Regions from separate parts of the Homo sapiens genome. Here all the other regions are linked to region 3. Evidence: promoter capture Hi-C in 16 types of primary human blood cells and fetal thymus (Javierre and others, 2016). All regions are on one chromosome and are shown on one strand. The core of a region is centred on a gene start or on the middle of the fragment in contact, and the rest is flanking DNA. Distances in the headings are between cores, read along the strand shown.

What was found. The method cuts DNA at HindIII sites, captures the fragments that hold promoters and counts their contacts. A CHiCAGO score of 5 or more calls a contact.
Region 1: a contact is called between a fragment that was not itself captured here and the fragment with the promoter of CCDC6 in region 3, in 1 of 17 cell types (activated CD4 T cells). The highest score is 5.8, in activated CD4 T cells.
Region 2: the fragment with the promoter of REEP3 here is called in contact with the fragment with the promoter of CCDC6 in region 3 in 2 of 17 cell types (fetal thymus and non-activated CD4 T cells); the score reaches 8.2 in fetal thymus.

Annotation. Positions count from the first base shown.
Region 1 is chr10:63,143,565-63,146,272 of GRCh38, reverse strand. NRBF2 (nuclear receptor binding factor 2) reads right to left here. Exons shown (of 4, transcript NM_030759.5): 2 at 1-64. Among named protein-coding and RNA genes, the nearest start is that of NRBF2, 12 kb to the right of the region's middle. The HindIII fragment of the contact is 215 bases long and covers 1,175-1,389 here.
Region 2 is chr10:63,520,049-63,522,748 of GRCh38, reverse strand. REEP3 (receptor accessory protein 3) reads right to left here and starts at 1,348. Exons shown (of 8, transcript NM_001001330.3): 1 at 1,172-1,348. The coding sequence starts at 1,203. It also overlaps a transcript of JMJD1C not described here. RefSeq lists a silencer at 663-1,712 and an enhancer at 2,103-2,152. The HindIII fragment of the contact is 3,716 bases long and covers 127-2,700 here.
Region 3 is chr10:59,905,264-59,907,963 of GRCh38, reverse strand. It overlaps CCDC6 (coiled-coil domain containing 6), which reads left to right and starts at 1,408. Exons shown (of 9, transcript NM_005436.5): 1 at 1,408-1,842. The coding sequence starts at 1,540. RefSeq lists silencers at 819-1,113, 1,296-1,635, 1,666-1,945 and an enhancer at 2,466-2,695. The HindIII fragment of the contact is 3,234 bases long and covers 1-2,700 here.

The DNA of each region.
Region 1 (2,708 bases), core at 33-2,532, 3.2 Mb before region 3:
AAATAGCCTCTTCGTATTTGCCTGCAGCTAATAAACGGTCTGCTCGTCTGCTCTGTTGATGAGCCTAGAAGACAAACATCCCTAAGTTCCTCTGGATCATAAAATAAAACATGATTTCTTTCAAAAAGCAACTACCTTTTAAGAAGATAAATAATACTGTTTTGTTGCCACATATCAAATCACTATTACAGCTCTATCTGTAGCTGGGGAAATGTAATGGGTAGAGCCTAGAACTGCAGCATCTGAAAGGAACTGGCAACTTCTTTCACTTCTACCATAAGCCCTCTCAAGGTTAACACCAGGCACTTAACTCCTTCAGTGACTCACATTCTTCCACTCTTTGGAGATAAACCAAGAGTTACAATCATAGATTGTTATTCAAAATGTCTATTTTCTTGATTTTTAACAAGCTCCTTTCAAAACAAGAGCTATTTTGTAGATACTTTCACTAATCTGTATAGTCTAAAAACTATAATCAGGAAATCACTCATCATGTAGTAAAATCCAAGCTTCTCTTCTATCATCTCATTCTTTCAACATTAAAGTTACTATTTGTTTTTAAAATAAAAAATTTGGACATTGCAGTTGATGAATTCATGATACCAACATCTAATATTACAAAGATTGTTTTAAAGATATCTCATCAAAAGAACAAAGTCAAAAAAATCAGAAGTTCTAACAGCAAATAATGTAATTGAAGGAAAACTTATTAAATAAGCAGTCACTGGCCTCCTTACACTTTAATAATTTCAAAAGAGCTTTAAGTCCAGGCACAGTGGCTCATGGCTGTAATCCCAGCACTTTGGGAGGCTGAGGCAGGCGGATCATCTGAGGTCAGGAGTTCAAGACCAGCCTGGCCAACATGGTGAAACCCCATCTCTACTAGAAATACAAAAATTAGCTGGGCGCAGTGGCTCACGCCTGTAATCCCAACACTTTGGGAGGCCGAGGCGGGCAGATCATGAGGTCAGGAGATCGAGACCATCCTGGCTAACAGGGTGAAACACCGTCTCTGCGGGCGCCTGTAATCCCAGCTACTCAGGAGGCTGAGGCAGGAGAACTGCTTGAACCTGGGAGGCAGAGGTTGCAATGAGGCAAGATCATGCCATTGCTCTCCAGCCTGGGTGAAAACAGTGAAACTCCATCTCAAAAAAAAAAAAAAAAAAAAAAAGCTTTAATATACATTATTTCAGCTGCTTTAACTACGACTTTGTTAATGTGTTTTCCTCTCTTACATAAGGAGGCCCAAAAGACTGATGGGGAGGTCGTGTAACTTACATAAGATTATACATTTAACTAGCAAGGAGAAAGGCAGAGATAATCAGCTAAAGTTTTCTACCTCATGTAACGATTTTCCTCAGTAACAAACACACACGATTTAGCAAAGCTTCACAGCTTCACAAAAAAGCAAAAAGCATTGTACACCCATATTCATAACAGCATTATTCACAACAGCCAAAAGGTGAAAGCAATCCAGATGTCCATCAACAGATAGATGGATAAATGCAGTATACACACACAATGGAAAGGTACTGTCTTTAAAAGTAAGGTAATTCTGGCCGGGCGCGGTGGCTCACGCCTGTAATCCTAGCACTTTTGGAGGCCGAGGCAGGCAAATCACAAGGTCAGGAGATCGAGACCATCTTGGCTAACACGGTGAAACCCCGTCTCTACTAAAAATACAAAAAAAATTAGCCAGGCGTGGTGGGGGGCACCTGTTGTCCCAGCTACTCAGGAGGCTGAGGCAGGAGAATAGCGTGAACCCGGAAGGCAGAGCTTGCAGTGAGCCGAGATCGCGCCACTCCACTCCAGCCTGGGTGACAGAGCGAGACTGTGTCTCAAAAAAAAAAAAAAAGGGAAGATAATTCTGACACATACTACAACATGGATGAACTGTGAGGACATTAGACTGAATAAAATAAGCCAGTCATAAAAGGACAAATACTATACAAATCGACTTATTGGGTATCTAAAGTAGTCAAATTCTTAAAAACAGGAAAGTTGAATGGTGGAACAACTCATCATTGAACAGGGGAGGGGGAAATGGGGAGTAGGTATTCAAACGGCATAGTTTCAGTTTTGCAAGATGAAAAAATTCTGGACATTTGTTGCACAACCATGCGAATATACTTAACACTACTAAACTGTACACTTAAAAATAATTAAGAAGGTAAACTTCACGTGTTTTTTACATCACTTAAAAAAGGTAAAAAGTGGCTGGGTGCTGTGGCTCATGCCTATAATCCCAGCACTTTAGGAGGCCAAAGCAGGCAGATCACTCGAGCTCAAGAGTTTGAGACAAGCCTGGGCAATATGGTGAAAACCCATCTCTACAAAAAATACAAAAATTAGCCGGGTGTGGCGCTCGCACCTGTAGTAGTAGTCCCAGCTACTGAGGAGGCTGAGGTAGGACAATCACTTGAGCCTGGGTAATGGAGGCTGCAGTGACCTGTGATCGCACCACTGCACTCCAGTCCGGGCAACAGAGTGAGATCTTGTCTCAAAAAAAAAAAAAAAAAAAAATCGGGCATGGTGGCTCATGCCTGTGATCCCAACACTTGCGGAGGCCAAGGCGGGTGGATCATCTGAGGTCAGGAGTTTGAGACCAGTCTGGCTAACATGGTGAAACCCCGTCTCTACAAAAATTAGCCCAGCAGGATGGTGGGTGCCTGTAATCCCAGCTACTCGGGAGGCTGAAGCAAGAGAAT
Region 2 (2,700 bases), core at 99-2,598, 3.6 Mb before region 3:
TGTGCTGCAAATCTGATTAAATAGGGCTAGTAATTCACTTCCAAACAAAATAAACCCCAAACTCAGAAAATCTAGCTCCTTTTAACAAAAAGTCTGGTAATGTTATTTTTCCTAAATTCTAAAGCTTATCAGAGAAGCCTGCCCCCTCACATAAACATTTTTTCATATACCTTTATGAAACCTTCTGAGATAACACTACTACAGAGGTGAATAATGAATTCATAGGCCCTAGCTGTAACTACGTCATTGTTTACTTGGTGACTTTTTTTTTAATCGGGGAGAGGGGTAAAATGGAGATGAGAGAAAATCAGTTTAAACTGTATTCAAATACATTTACACGATTAACACCACCAACTCAAGGAATTTCTTTTTCTTACAGACCTGTAGCACTTGTTGGTAGGAGAACAATGAAATGAACCCATAATTTGAACAAAGGCAACAGGCACCTGCAGCCTTTCAATCACTTAGCAAATATTTCCGCCGAGACAGGGCCGAATTCGGGGATCTGGGCGAGCAGCCGGTGTCACCTTTCTCGGTAAGCTGCAAATCTTGGGAAAACTAGGACCCTTCCCAGGGATCCTGGGCTGGGAGCGGTCTCCGGTTTTTAGACAAATCTCTCCTCCTACCACACGTGACCGAATGGCAATCAGCCGCCAAGAGAGACACCGCAACGCATCAGCCGCGGGATACAAAGGCTCGGCACTGCCGTCGCATCCTCGGGAGGATCGCGGAGCCTCCCGCGCTCGGCGTCTGCGGAGCCTGCGCAGGGAGCAGCTGCGAGGCGCGCCGCTCCCGGGCCCGCAGGGCGGTGCCGCGCTGCGCGGGGAGCAGGAGCGGGGAGCGCGCGCCGCCTGCCCTGAGCGCCTGCCCACCCAGCGCCGCCGGAGCAGGGGCGCCGCGCCGCACCGCACGCAGCCGAGCAGCGCCACAGCCGCCGCCGCCGTCGCAGCCGCAGTCGCCGCAGCTAGGCCCTCGGCCGTCGCAGGGAGCTCCGCAGCGACGTGGACCAAGGTGAGGAAGCCGAGGGCTCCCCCAGACCCTCGGCAGGCCCGAGGCCGGGCTACCCCGTCCCCGCCCAGGCCCAGGCCTTCCCTTTCCTCTCGGCTCCTTCCCCTTCCCACAGCTCCCCTGGGCCTCGCGCCGGCTGCAGGGCGCAGTGAGAGGCACTTACACCACGGCTCTGGAGATCATCCAGGACACCATCTTCACGGGGGCTTGGGCCCCACGTCCGGGGCGGGTGGGCGCAGGGCGCTGCGGACCAGGCCGCCAACGGCAGGCCGCGCGCTTCGCCGGCTCCTCGCGCTCCCCGGGGCCGCGCTGGCGCCCTCAGGAGCCGGGCCCGGTGTGTGCGCGCGGCGGCCTGGGCTGCGCAGAGGTCGGTCCCCCGCCCGTCCCCGCCCGCCCCCGCCCGCCGGCCCGGCAGCCTAGTCCGGACAGCACCCCGCCCCTGCGCTCCGCTGATAGGCGGTGGCGGCGGCGCGTTGGCCCGGGCCAGGGCTGGGGCCAGGCGGCCGGGCTCCAGGGCTGGGCTGGCGGGATCCTAGCCCGCGCTGGACGGCCTCGCTGCCGCGGCCTTGGCCCCTGCGCTCTAACCAACCTTACCCTCCTTAGCTCTTTGGGACGCCCACACTCGCGGCGAGAGTGGGGCAGGAGGCTGAGGAAGGGTACTGGAGGGTAGGGATTGGCAGTGCCTGTGTGAAAAGTGAGATATTCGCAGGAACTCGGTGTCCAATAAAACTCTCGACCAGGCCCTGGTTTTGGAGAGCCAAGACTTTGAGGTGTGCCTGGCCACATCCGGTATCCTCAGTGTTTACGGAGGCCCAGCACCAAAGGCGTCCTTATATTACCACATTTTAAAGGAATCGTCGAGAGGTTCTTGCACAGGCCTCCGTGTGTGCCACGAGTCTCGTGGTGCAATGCAGGGAGGGACAGAGGAGGATTTCATGTTTGCAGTAGTGGGTGCAGTGATACCACTGTTCTGGGCCTCTTAGGGCACCTTTTCATCAGAGCATCTGCAAAGACTGTTTACAGACACGAATCTCCATTATTTCCCTGAGGCCTGCCAGATGTTCAAAGTAAAGGCTGGGTCTAGGATTCCTGACCTGTCTTAAGATTTACAACTATATTACAGCTGTAAGATTTACAACTGTATTTTTTGGAGGTTGGGTTACTGCTTACACCTTGCTGTTCTTGCAAATATCATTTCAAGGGCAGACTTTTAAAACTGTTTTTTTTTTTTTTTTGTGACAGTACCAAATTGAGAAAATGATGTTAAAGTTTAGATATTTTTATTTTTTCCAGTTAAGACGATAGTAAAAGATAATTCTAGTATTCAGATGGTGCGAAGAATAAAAGATGAAATGTAGGCTTGGAGCCTTTAATTAAAGTCCTAGAAAATATGATGGCTTTTGTGACCATACTGTAATTTTGTCTTCTTGTTCCTCAGTTTCCCTGTGATAAAAAGGGGGTAATAATACTGTAGTCTGTCTCTTGCCTTTCAAGGGTGATATGAGGCACTGCTAAATAATATGTTTAGGAAATACTCTGACTTGCATGGAAGACAATCAAAGGACACAACAGATTATCCTAAATTATTTTCAGTTCTCAGTCAATAAATTGGGTAATATTTCATTATTTAAGAAACAAGCTCAGAAGCTACTTTCTACTCTTGGGTTAGGTTCTTTTCGCTTATTAATTCAT
Region 3 (2,700 bases), core at 159-2,658:
CACCGTTTAATCATGAGATCAAATTTAGGTTTAAAGATAATGAGGGAGTGGGAATAAGAATCATTCTTCTTTCTTCCTAACACTTTAGAAATCTTTCAGAAAGTTCAACCCAACAGAAAAAAAAATTACACTTTTTTTTCTATTTTCTATTACCATGTGTTTGTTGTAATGTTAACTAAGCGTGGGTAATAAAACTAGTCTGGTCAGTTTCACTTTCCAATTTTTATACATAAGTGAAAGCTGTTTTGTGTCAACAGGGCAAAGTGTTTAGAATCATCTCACCTGCTGGGCCAATTTCCTGCAAGCCTTTCTTTGGGAAGAGGAAGGGGGAATAAAAGTTTTTGATTTTTAATTTCTTAAACTGCAAAGCTAGAACCATGAATTAGACCGCATTACAGTAATTACTGTTTTATTTTTACATGCTAAAGTTTTCTAGGAGTGAGCAAGAGGATAGCAAAGACGGGTGATGTTGCACTCCCACTCAATCATTACTATTTGTATAGCATAATGTTATGTCCGCAGTTACTTTGGAAAATTGGCACTTAAAGAGGTGTTTCAATCTTCTACTAAAAGTGTTTCGCCTTCCTTTTTTTTTTTCTTCATTAGGTAAATGTTACTGTCTTAATCCTACTACGAGACATGTGCTGGAAATGTTTGCAAAATGCAAAGAGAAAAAGAAAAAAACAGTTGCACCTTGTTTAAACAATTGAGCGCAGTGTGGTTTATGAGGTTATTAAAGGAGATGTGTGTCTCTCCTGCAAATTCTTACTTAACAAGGTTAACCTGTGGCTGCTGTTGTTTCATCCTCCTCGGCCTCTTGTAGAGGAACTTTGTTCTCTTAGGTTTATCCAAGCCTTCCTAGTCAAAAACACCTTGCTTTTGAGAATATAAAACTGCGTGTATGTGTGAAACAGATAGAGGGAGACACGCGCACACACAGTCGGCGGAAGATGGGGCCACAACACGGTAGAGGATGGGTGCCGGAGCCCGGCTGACCTTTCCACGTGTCCCCGGCACCTGCGAGGCTGGTGGGGCATCAGGTTTCCTTTTTCTCGGGGCGGGCGCGAGCCCGGAAGAGGCTGGGCGGCCGTGGGCTTAGATCAGGGGGCTCGGAGGCCCTCCCTTGGAACACGTGTGGCTGGCGAGCTGGTGGTGCGGGGGCAGTCCTTGGCTTTCCCGCACCCGCAGTGCCTGCGCGTTCCCAGCCCGCCCGTGGTCACCAGACGGCGGCGGGCGGGTCCCGGAGCTTTCAGCCAGCTTTGCTGGGCGGCCTAGGGAGCGCGCCCAGCCCGGCTGGAGCGAGCCCCAGTGCAATACTGCCCAAGCCCGGGCGGGGTCTCTGTTCTCTGGCAGAGGAGGTCCCTTGGCAGCGGGAAGCGCCCTCTCTTTCTCTCGCCGCCGCTCCGAGTCTGCGCCCTGGTGCCAGGCGCTCAGCTCGGCGCTCCCCTGTGCTCGCCCGGCGCCCACTCATTCGCAGCCCGGCCTTCGTCGCCGCCGCCTCCCTGCTGCTCCTCCTCCTTTCCCCAGCCCGCCGCGGCCATGGCGGACAGCGCCAGCGAGAGCGACACGGACGGGGCGGGGGGCAACAGCAGCAGCTCGGCCGCCATGCAGTCGTCCTGCTCGTCGACCTCGGGCGGCGGCGGTGGCGGCGGGGGAGGCGGCGGCGGTGGGAAGTCGGGGGGCATTGTCATCTCGCCGTTCCGCCTGGAGGAGCTCACCAACCGCCTGGCCTCGCTGCAGCAAGAGAACAAGGTGCTGAAGATAGAGCTGGAGACCTACAAACTGAAGTGCAAGGCACTGCAGGAGGAGAACCGCGACCTGCGCAAAGCCAGCGTGACCATCGTGAGTGCCCCCCGGGGACGCGCCGCAGCGCCGACCTCCGCCCGCCCCGGGAGGGGCTGCACCCGAATCCAGCCACCCCCCAAGTCTTCCCCAGATTCCCGGGGACCCTCTGAGAGCACACTCCCTGCGGGGACCTGCTGGCTTCCGGGAGGAGAGGGAGGTATCCCTTCGGGGCCACGCGGGTCTGTCCTCCTCGGGGGTCTGAGGACCCTTGCGCGGTGCGGGGGAAGGCTACTGTGGCAACCATTCATGGTCCCTTTTAGCCTCTGGAGAGGAGGCCCCTCCGGGGCTGGGCTGGAGGCTGGCGGCGTGGCTGGGGGGCGGGGTAGGACTTTTTTCAGCCCTAGCATGTTTGAGGGGTGCGTCCAGAATCTGGGGAACCCCAGTCCTGGAAGAGGGAGGAAGCTGGGATCTCTTACTGGGTCCTGGCTCGGAGTGTGGGGGTTCGCAGCTGGACTGGGCACTAAGCTGGCATCTGGACTGCGCTAGCTGGATCGCCCGGGGAGGGGGCGGGAGAGAGTGGCCGGGAATCCGGGAAGTGGAGTTTTCTGGCCGGGATCGAGAGGGAAGGGCGGGTACGGCGCTAATGCTCCCACCTCTGTTGGAAGCTCTTTGCTTTGGGTTGGGAGGGTGGACGGTTTACAGCGAGGAGAGTGCAGCATCCACGCCTGGACAGGGCTGGGGCCGAAACCAGGGGAAGGGTAGTGACTGTGACTCCCTGGCTGAGCCAGAGGTACGTGTGTTTGCTTCATTCGTGGAGTGGTTAGAAGTATCTTGCTTCTGAGTCTAGATACTGGAGAACAGGCCATCTGTTCTGTTTCTACCTGTCCCCTGGAGGCTGCCCAGAAACGGGTAAGC